Regions from separate parts of the Homo sapiens genome. Here region 1 is linked to region 2. The links are contacts of gene promoters, found by promoter capture Hi-C in human tissues and cell types (Jung and others, 2019). All regions are on one chromosome and are shown on one strand. The core of a region is centred on a gene start or on the middle of the fragment in contact, and the rest is flanking DNA. Distances in the headings are between cores, read along the strand shown. Region 1 overlaps WDTC1 (WD and tetratricopeptide repeats 1). Region 2 holds the start of GPR3 (G protein-coupled receptor 3).

What was found. The method cuts DNA at HindIII sites, captures the fragments that hold promoters and counts their contacts. A contact is called where the count stands out against the background at its distance.
Region 1: a fragment that was not itself captured here is called in contact with the fragment with the promoter of GPR3 in region 2 in 1 of the 25 tissues and cell types used here (spleen).

What each region holds. Positions count from the first base shown.
Region 1 is chr1:27,246,748-27,251,706 of GRCh38, forward strand. All of the region lies in intron 1 of WDTC1 (WD and tetratricopeptide repeats 1), which reads left to right. Among named protein-coding and RNA genes, the nearest start is that of WDTC1, 15 kb to the left of the region's middle. The HindIII fragment of the contact is 4,416 bases long and covers 466-4,881 here.
Region 2 is chr1:27,391,041-27,395,720 of GRCh38, forward strand. GPR3 (G protein-coupled receptor 3) reads left to right here and starts at 1,582. Exons shown (of 2, transcript NM_005281.4): 1 at 1,582-1,697; 2 at 2,754-4,680. The coding sequence starts at 2,759. The coding sequence ends at 3,751. RefSeq lists enhancers at 198-734, 735-1,271, 1,809-2,344, 3,173-3,970 and a silencer at 1,286-1,785. The HindIII fragment of the contact is 10,052 bases long and covers 1-4,680 here.

The DNA of each region.
Region 1 (4,959 bases), core at 1,424-3,923, 140 kb before region 2:
GATGGGGTTTCACCATGTTGGCCAGGCTGGTCTTGAACTCCTGACCTCAGGTGATCTGCCCACCTCGGCCTCCCAAAGTGCTGGGATTACAGGCGTGAGCCACCACGCCCAGCCATTTTTTTTTTTTTTTTTTTTTCGAAACAGGGTCTCACTCTGTCACCCAGCCTGGAGTCCAGTGCCACAAACATAGCTCACTGCAGCCTCAAACTCCTGGGCCTAAGTAATCCTCCTACCTCGGACTCCCAAAGTGCTGGGATTACAGACGTGAGCCACCGCACCCAGCCTATTTCTGCATTATTATTTATTTAATTAATTAAACTTTTTTTTGAGACAGAGTCTCCCTCTGTTGCCCAGGCTGGAGCAGAGTGGCATGATCTCAGCTCACTGCAACCTCTGCCTCCTGGGTTTAAGCGATTCTCCTGCCTCAGCCTCTCGAGTAGCTGGGATTACAGGTGCCTGCCACCACGCCTGGCTAATTTTTGTATTTTTAGTAGAGACGAGGTTTTACCACGTTGGCTAGGCTGGTCTTGAACTTCTGACCTTAAGTGATCCACCTGCCTCAGCCTCCCAAAATGCTGGGATTAGAGATGTGAGCCACTGTGCCCAGCCTTGTGCAGGTTTTTTATACAGGTAAACTCATGTCATGGTGGTTTGTTGTGCAGATTATTTTGTTACCCAGGTACTAAGCCTAGTACTCAATAGTTATTTTTTCTGATCCTCTTCCTCTTCCCACCCTCCACCCTCAAGTAGGTTCCAGTGTCTGTTGTTCCCTTCTTTGTGTCCATGAAGTCTCATCATTTAGCTTCCACTTACAAGTTAGAACATGCCATATTTGGTTTTCTGTTTCTGCTTTAGTTTGCTGAGGATAATGGCCTCCGGCTCCATTCATGTTCCTGCAAAGGATATGATCTCATTCTTATGGCTGCATGGTCATTCCATGGTGTACATGTACCACATTTTCTTTCTTTTTTTTTTTTTTTTTCTTTGTGAGATGGAGTTTCACTCTTGTTGCCCAGCCTGGAGTGCAATGGCGTAGTCTCAGCTCACTACAACCTCTGCCTCCCGGGTTCAAGTGATTCTCCTGCCTCAGCCTCCCAAGTAGCTGGGATTATAGGCACCTGACACCATGCCTGCCTAATTTTATAGTGTTAGTAGAGACGGGGTTTCTCCACGTTGGCCAGGCTGGTCTTGAACTGCTGACCTCAGGTGATCTGCCCGCCTCGGCCTCCCAAAGTGCTGGGATTACAGGCGTGAGCCACTGTGCCCAGCCTGTACCACATCTTCTTTATCCCATCTGCTGTTGATGAGCATTTAGGTTGATTCCATGTCTTGCTTATTGTGAATAGTGCCACAATTAACATACTGCACAGTGTGTGTGTCTTTATGGTGAAACTATTTATATTCCTTTGGGTATATACCCAGTAATAGGATTGCTAGGGCAAATGGTAGTTCTGTTTTTAGCTCTTTGAGGAATCTTCACACTGCTTTCCACAATGGTTGAACTAATTTACACTCCCACTAACAGTGTAAAAGTGTTGCCTTTTCTCTGCAACCTCACCAGCATCTGTTATTTTTTGACTTTTTAATAATAGCTATCCTGACTAGTGTGAGATGGTATCTCATTGTGGTTTTGACTTGGATTTCTCTATTGATCAGTGATACTGAGCTTTTTTTCATATGCTTGTTGGCCACATGTATGTCTTCTTTTGAAAAGTGTCTGTTCATGTCCTTTGCCCACTTGATGGGATTGTTTTTTTCTTACACATTTGTTTAAGTTCCTTATAGATGCTGGATATTAGACCTTTGTCAGATGCATAGTTTGCAAGTATTTTCTCCCATCCTATAGGTTGTCTGTTAATGATACACTTTAAAATGATTAGTTTCATCTTATGTGAATTTCACTTAAAAACTTTTTATTATTATTTTTTTTTATTCAGAGTCTTGCCCTGTCTCCCAGGCTGGAGTGCAGTGGTGTGATCTTGGCTCACTGTAGCCGAAACCTCCTGGGCTCAAGCAGTCCTCCCACCTCAGCCTCCCAAGTAGCTGGGACTGTAGGTGTGCCACCACGCCCAGCTAATTTTTTAACTTTTTTTAGAGACAGGGTTTCACCATGTTTCCCAGCTGGTCCCAAACTCCTGGGCTCAAGCAATCTTCCCACATTGGTCTCCCAAAGTGCTGGGATTATAGACGTGAGCCACTGCACCCAGCCTTAAATTTTTTAAAAAGAAACCATATCCCGGCCCAGCTCAGTGGCTCACACCTGTAATTCCAGCACTTTGGGAGGCTGAGGCAGACAGATCACTTGAGGCCAGTAGCTCAAGACAAGCTTAGCCAACATGGTGAAACCCCATCTCTACTAAAAATACGAAAAATTAGCCGAGCATAATGGTGCATGCCTGTAATCCCAGCTACTCCGGAGGCTGAGGCATGAGAATCACTTGAACCTGAGAGGCAGAGGCTGTAGTGAGCCAAGATGGCACCACTGCACTCCAGCCTGGGCAACAGAGTGAGACTGTCTCAAAAAAAAAAAAAAGCCATATCCTTTAGCTGTCACTTCTCTATCCCCCCATTCCCTTCAGCCCTAAGCAACCATTAATCTACTTCCTATTTCTATTCTATTTTGTTCTATTTTATATAAATGGAATTATGCAATATGTAGGCTTCTTTCACTTGGCATAATATTTTTAGAGTTCCCCTATGTTGTAGCATGTATCAGTACTTCATTCCTTCTTATGGCCAAATAACATTCCATTGTATGGATATACCACATTTTGTTTATCTATTTATCAGTTGATGGATGTTTCCACCTTTTGGCTATTATGAATAATGCTGCTCTAAACTTTTTTTTTTCTTTTTGAGACTGAATCTCACTCTCACTAAGGCTGGAGTGGCATGATCATAGCTCACTGTAACTTCAAACTCCTGGGTTCAAGCAATCTTTCTGCCTCAGCCTCCTGAGTAGCTAGGGCTGTAGATGCATGGCCACCACACCTGGCTAATTTTATTTTTTGTAGAGACGGGATTTTGCTGTGTTGCCCAGCCTGGTCTTAAATTCTTGGCCTCAAGTGATTCTCCCTCGGCCTCCCAAAGCGCTGGGATTACAGGTGTGAGCCAGTGCACCTGGCCTTGCTATAAATACATTCTTGCACAGATTTTTGTGTGGCATTTCTTCACTTTTAACAACGTCACGATTTTCCTTCTGATCTTGCGTTTCAAACCTAACAGGTGATAAAGACATCCTATACTCTGCCCCTGCCATCCTACAATGAAATACCCCTTGTCAGCTTCATCTCTGGTAGGGAAATTGGGGCGGGGGAAATGTTATAATCCATGCTACTGAGCAAATATAACAGGGGTTACCAGGTTTTAGTAGAATTCAAATTTAGCTAACATTTGTTGAGCACCTACTACAATCTAGATACGATACTGTTATGTACTTTCTTTTTTTCTTTTTTGGAGATAAGAGTCTCTCTGTATCCTCTAGGCTGGAGTGCAGTGGTGCAATCTCGGCTCACTGCAACCTCCGCCTCCCAGGTTCAAGCGATTCTCCTGCCTCAGCCTCCCAAGTAACTTTGTATTTTTAGTAGAAACGGGGTTTTGCCATGTTGACCAGGCTGGTCTCAAATTCCTGACCTCAGGTGATCCACCCACCTCAGCATCCCAAAGTGCTGGGATTACAGGCGTGAGCCACCACACCCAGCCCTGTTATGTATTTTCATATATATTTTATCATGTATTCACAACAACCCATTAAAGTAGGTGTTAGCATCCCCATTTTACAAATGAGGAAATTGAAACTCAGAAAATTTAAGTAACTTCCCTATGTAGGTACTAATTGGTACACTGAGGGGGAAGCTGGAATTCAGGCCCAGGTGCCTAAGTATTATATGTTTTTCTCTTTCTGCTGCGTTATCCAGAGCCAAACAAGGACTATAGCACACATGAAAGGAGTGGTTCTTCATATTTGGATATTACCATTCAATTCTTGGTTCTAGATGAGTGATCTTCACAAATGTACTTTGTTCTAAGTCATGTTAACCTCAGGCTATTATATTACTGATCACCTTGGCATTATGATTAGACTAATTCCTCCAAATCGAGCTGTTAATTGACTTGTTTTTTTTTTTTTTCTTTTTTGAGACAGAGTCTCACTCTGTCACCCAGGCTGGAGTGCAGTGGTGTGATCTTGGCTCAATGCAACCTCTGCCTCCCAGGTTCAAGCGATTCTCCTGCCTCAGCCTCCTGAGTAGCTGGGATTACTGGCGTGCACCACTACTCCTGGCTAATTTTTTTTTTTTTTTTTTTTTTTTTTTTTTTTTTTTTAGTAGAGACAGGGTTTCACCATATTGGCCAGGCTGGTCTCAAACTCCTGACCACAGGTGATCTGCCCACCTTGGCCTCCCAAAATGCTGGGATTACAGGTGTGAGCGACCACACCTAGCCAGACTTCTATTTTCTTGTTAGTATCCTTTAAAATCATAGAGATAGGCTTATAGAAGAAAGTTTTCCAGTATTCTAAGTTAAAAGTTTATAGAAATGATGGGGTTACATGGTGATATGCTAGGCATTTTAGAGCTCCAGGAATAGAATACCTTTTGGGAGGTGTAACATCTGCATAGCAACTCATATTTTCTTTGTAACATTGTGTCTTGTGTCTTCTTCTGTGCCTTAAGTATTTTTATATTTTTCATAATCTCAGCTCCCAGAAATCAGCTGCTTTCTTTCTCCTTAATTCATTGAGTATCTACTAGAGCTGGTCCACAATATCCTAACTTATAGTAGACCTTTGGGCCGGAGCACAGTGCCTCATGCCTGTCATTCCAGCAGTTTGGGGAGCTGAAGCAGGAGGATTGTTTGAAGCTAGCCAGGCAGTCAAGACCAACCTGGGCAACATAGCAAGACCCTGAATTTAGGAAAAAACAATAATTAGCTGGGAATGGTGGTGCATGCCTGTAGTCC
Region 2 (4,680 bases), core at 332-2,831:
ACTCTCCAAAGTCACCCAGCTAGGAAATGGAGAAACTGAGATTGGACACTTCCACCCCCTAAGCCCCCTAAACTCACCACATCCAACCTGAAATGAATCCTCTTCTCCAGCTCCGACCCCCTCCTCCTCCCATGTTCCCTGCCACTTGACCTTCTGCTGCCTCACACTCAAACCCAAAACCTGCCTGGTGGAGGCTGACCATGGGGGCTGCAGTGATGGTGCTGTGATGGGGGTGTCCAGTGGGGCCTGGGATCCTCAGGCCTCTTAACCTCATCTTCCCCTCCCACAGGCCTGCATGATTCCAGGGAGCATCAAGGCAAGAGACACAGGGAGAAGGAGCAGCCAGTCCCCCTGCCGCAGGACTGGCCACATCTGTCACATCTGGAGAAGTCTGCCCAGAGTGGTTCCCCTGGACTAAGGGCAGATGGCGTTGGGGAAGAGGGAGCTCTTTCTCCTTGCTCCACCCATCAGGATGCCTAAAATAGGAGGCTGAGAGGGGCCTGCCCTGAGGACTGAGCTGCCAGGCTTTCTGCTTCCAAGTTCTTCCCGGCTCCCCATCTCCTCCTGCTTCAGGGAAGTGCACCCCTCACCCCCTCCACGCTGGCTTTCTAGATACTGGAATAAATAATTCAGGTTTTGAAATCTTGCCAGGCCCACCCCTCCGGTGCTGTGAGGGCGCTATTGGGCTGACATGAGTGACGTCACCCAGCTCTTATCCCAGCCCCGGCATCACGGGACTTGCCCTGGCAGCAACTTACCTGCCTGGTCACTGTCAGTCCAGACCCTCTACCCTGTGCCCCTCACCCTGGAGCCCACTCACCACAGCCACCTGCTATCTTCGTTCCAGGGCCCCACAGTCCTCATGGCTTAGCATTGTCGCTTCAGTACCCCAGCCATTCTGACAGGGTAATGGTGACCTGAAGTCACCTGGACACTCCATGTTCCCAGGCCGCTGCCTCTGCCATCCCGGGGTCCCTGAACTCCCCCCTGCTGCATAGTCACCCTGACACTGCCATGGTTGCCCTGAGGGCTTCCCCTCTACCGTTAGCGTCCCACGGCCATCACCCCCCACCCCAAGATTCTGTCACCATGCTAATGTCGTCACTGCCACCCACCTCCCCGCTCCCTCGTGCTCCCTGTCATCGTCACCTCAGGGCCCCATCATCTTGGAAACCCTGTCATTCTCACCAGGGAAGCCCAACCAGCCCCATCACAAGCTCTTCCTTCGTCACCTGGATCTCGTCAGCCTCTCTGCCACCCAAGGGTCCCATCACCCCACAGCCTAGCCGGGCCCCCTTTCCACTCTTCCACCACGTTCCCTGCAGCCTCTCTGAGACTTCAAGGCTCTCGCACCGGCGCCTCTGAAACCCCCGGCCCGCAGAGGGCGCCGCGTCAAGGACAGCGCGGGCGGACTCGGGAGGGGGCGGGGCCGCAGCCACGGTCGCTTTTTATGAATGGGGGAGCGGGCGGTGCGAGGCCTTATTACTATGCCGCGCAACGCGCGCTGCGCCCCAGCGCGCCGCGCCCATTGGCTGATCGGACCGCTGACGTCACCGAACCGGTGGCCGGGGGCGGGGCGGGGTGACTCACGCCGCTTCTCCCGCGGCCGCGGGGGCTTCTCGGGGTCCACGCACGCCCTGCGCCGCCAGGACCCGAGCGGAGCCTCCCCGCGGCCCGGCCGCGCCTGGTCCTGAGCGGTGAGTAGCGGGCCCCGCCGCGGGCACCAGGGGTCCTGAAGGGCACGCAGGATGCTGGGGCACTGGGCCGGCGGAAGGCTCCTAGTGGCCGGCCGGGGTTCGAGTTCGAGGTGGGAATTCTGGGTTTAGGCGATTCTGGGTTAGCAGGCTTGGGCCCAAGTGCTCGAGTGCTGGGGTTGAGTTGGATGACCCGGCGAAGGGTAAGCATTCCTGCAGGGACCCGAGGCCCTGGAGGGACTGATGGTCATCTGAGGTTAAGCCGGCAGGAGGCGTCTGGGGCAGGGACCCAGGGGTCCGAACAGCAGGAGGTGTCCAATTTAGGAATCCAGGTATCCAGGCAGGAGGCAGAGTCAGGCCCAAAATCCAGGTGTCCGGGCAGAAGGAGGCATCTGACTCAGGGATCCAGTCTTCCAGCAGGGGGGTCTGCCCAGAGACCTAGAGATTCAGGCGGAAAGAAGGGTCCAGCCAGGAACAGAAGTCTGGGAGGGTGGGGGGTGGGGGGCTGAGTTCCCAGGTGTTACCGCGGGAGTGCGGGGTGATGGCTGGCGGGAGCTTCACGCGCATTCCCTGGGGGCGGAGTCTAAGGCTGGCAGTACTGAAAATCGTGAGGGGTCTGGGAGCCTCAGGCACGAGCTAGCATCATCATCTCTGATGGGAGGGAGCGGAGCTGCTCAGTCTCCCTGATGGGGTAGATGTTTCCCTACCCCAATCTTGAGCCTTCGGGGGCATCCCCTGGATCCTATGGCCCTCTTCCACTTATAGTACCCCTTCTTCTGTCTCTCCTCTGGTCACACACGTGGGAAAAAGAGACCTGCAGGACCTAGGACAGGGATCCCCAGGAAGAGACCCCTGTTTAGAGGCCTGGGGGCATTGGAGGGGACAGCGGTATCCTGGGAAGAGCCCCAGGGCATGAATGTGGGGATAAGGCATTGGGACCCTATCAGGTATCCTGAGGAGAGACTCCCACCACGTATCCTGAGAAGCACCTCACCCCCTCCAGACCCCAACTCCCATCACCCAGCTTGGTCAGCTTCTCACAAGGCCTTTCTCCTGCAGGTACCATGATGTGGGGTGCAGGCAGCCCTCTGGCCTGGCTCTCAGCTGGCTCAGGCAACGTGAATGTAAGCAGCGTGGGCCCAGCAGAGGGGCCCACAGGTCCAGCCGCACCACTGCCCTCGCCTAAGGCCTGGGATGTGGTGCTCTGCATCTCAGGCACCCTGGTGTCCTGCGAGAATGCGCTAGTGGTGGCCATCATCGTGGGCACTCCTGCCTTCCGTGCCCCCATGTTCCTGCTGGTGGGCAGCCTGGCCGTGGCAGACCTGCTGGCAGGCCTGGGCCTGGTCCTGCACTTTGCTGCTGTCTTCTGCATCGGCTCAGCGGAGATGAGCCTGGTGCTGGTTGGCGTGCTGGCAATGGCCTTTACCGCCAGCATCGGCAGTCTACTGGCCATCACTGTCGACCGCTACCTTTCTCTGTACAATGCCCTCACCTACTATTCAGAGACAACAGTGACACGGACCTATGTGATGCTGGCCTTAGTGTGGGGAGGTGCCCTGGGCCTGGGGCTGCTGCCTGTGCTGGCCTGGAACTGCCTGGATGGCCTGACCACATGTGGCGTGGTTTATCCACTCTCCAAGAACCATCTGGTAGTTCTGGCCATTGCCTTCTTCATGGTGTTTGGCATCATGCTGCAGCTCTACGCCCAAATCTGCCGCATCGTCTGCCGCCATGCCCAGCAGATTGCCCTTCAGCGGCACCTGCTGCCTGCCTCCCACTATGTGGCCACCCGCAAGGGCATTGCCACACTGGCCGTGGTGCTTGGAGCCTTTGCCGCCTGCTGGTTGCCCTTCACTGTCTACTGCCTGCTGGGTGATGCCCACTCTCCACCTCTCTACACCTATCTTACCTTGCTCCCTGCCACCTACAACTCCATGATCAACCCTATCATCTACGCCTTCCGCAACCAGGATGTGCAGAAAGTGCTGTGGGCTGTCTGCTGCTGCTGTTCCTCTTCCAAGATCCCCTTCCGATCCCGCTCCCCCAGTGATGTCTAGCTGAGTCTTCATGACCCTTCAACCCTGATTACTACAGAATTCCAGAATGTTAGGCTCTCCAGGGCTTCTTTCCAAACCCCCAGCTCCACACCCCCCAGACCCAGCTGGTTCTGGAGTTCTAGGACATTGGGTGTTTCAAGGTTCTGTTCAGATCCCTATGGGGGCCCAGCTGGCTCCACGGTTCCAGAATGTTCAGGTGGTCAGTGTTCTACTCAGAAATGTCTCACAGCCCAGCTGGGTTGCAATTCCAGAATGCTGGGAGTTTTACAGTGCCATTCCAAGTCCCAGATGTCCCTCTTCCCCCAAACTTGACCTTGACCATGTCACTTTATGTTTGAATTTCTGAGCTAAAGAGTCAGAGAGATTAGTCACATAGTTGCCTAAATAGGAGAGAGAAAGATTATATATGCACATATACAAAGACAGTGTCTATTTATGATTGATTTATTTATTTATAAATTTACTTATGGGTGGTAAGGGGCAAAAAAGAGGCCCACACCTTGATATCCAGGCCATACCAGGGTATCCCTTGTCCCTTCACCCCCATTTCTGACCTCAGTTCCTGGAGGGGGGAAAGGGTGAAAGAGAAACCACGTATTTTGTTATTATTTTGGATTATTTTTTATCGAAGAGATCATAGAAACCAGAGCCTTCTCCCCAGGCCTGCCCTCCTCGGGTTTGGAAGGGGAACACACCAGCCTCTGGTTTTTTATTTTTTTAAGAAGCCATCACCTGAGCAACCAAAAATTCCTCTGCGCTGGGGTCCGACTGCCCTCTGGTGGCCATTTGGGGAAAACTGCAGCCCGGCCAGGCAGCTGGGACCAGAATGCAACCCCAGCTCCACTCCAGCCTGGCGTCCAGGGCCACAGCCATGGCCTGGGGGCCAAGCCTCACCCTGCGGTGCCCTAAAGGAGGGGGGGCACGAGCCA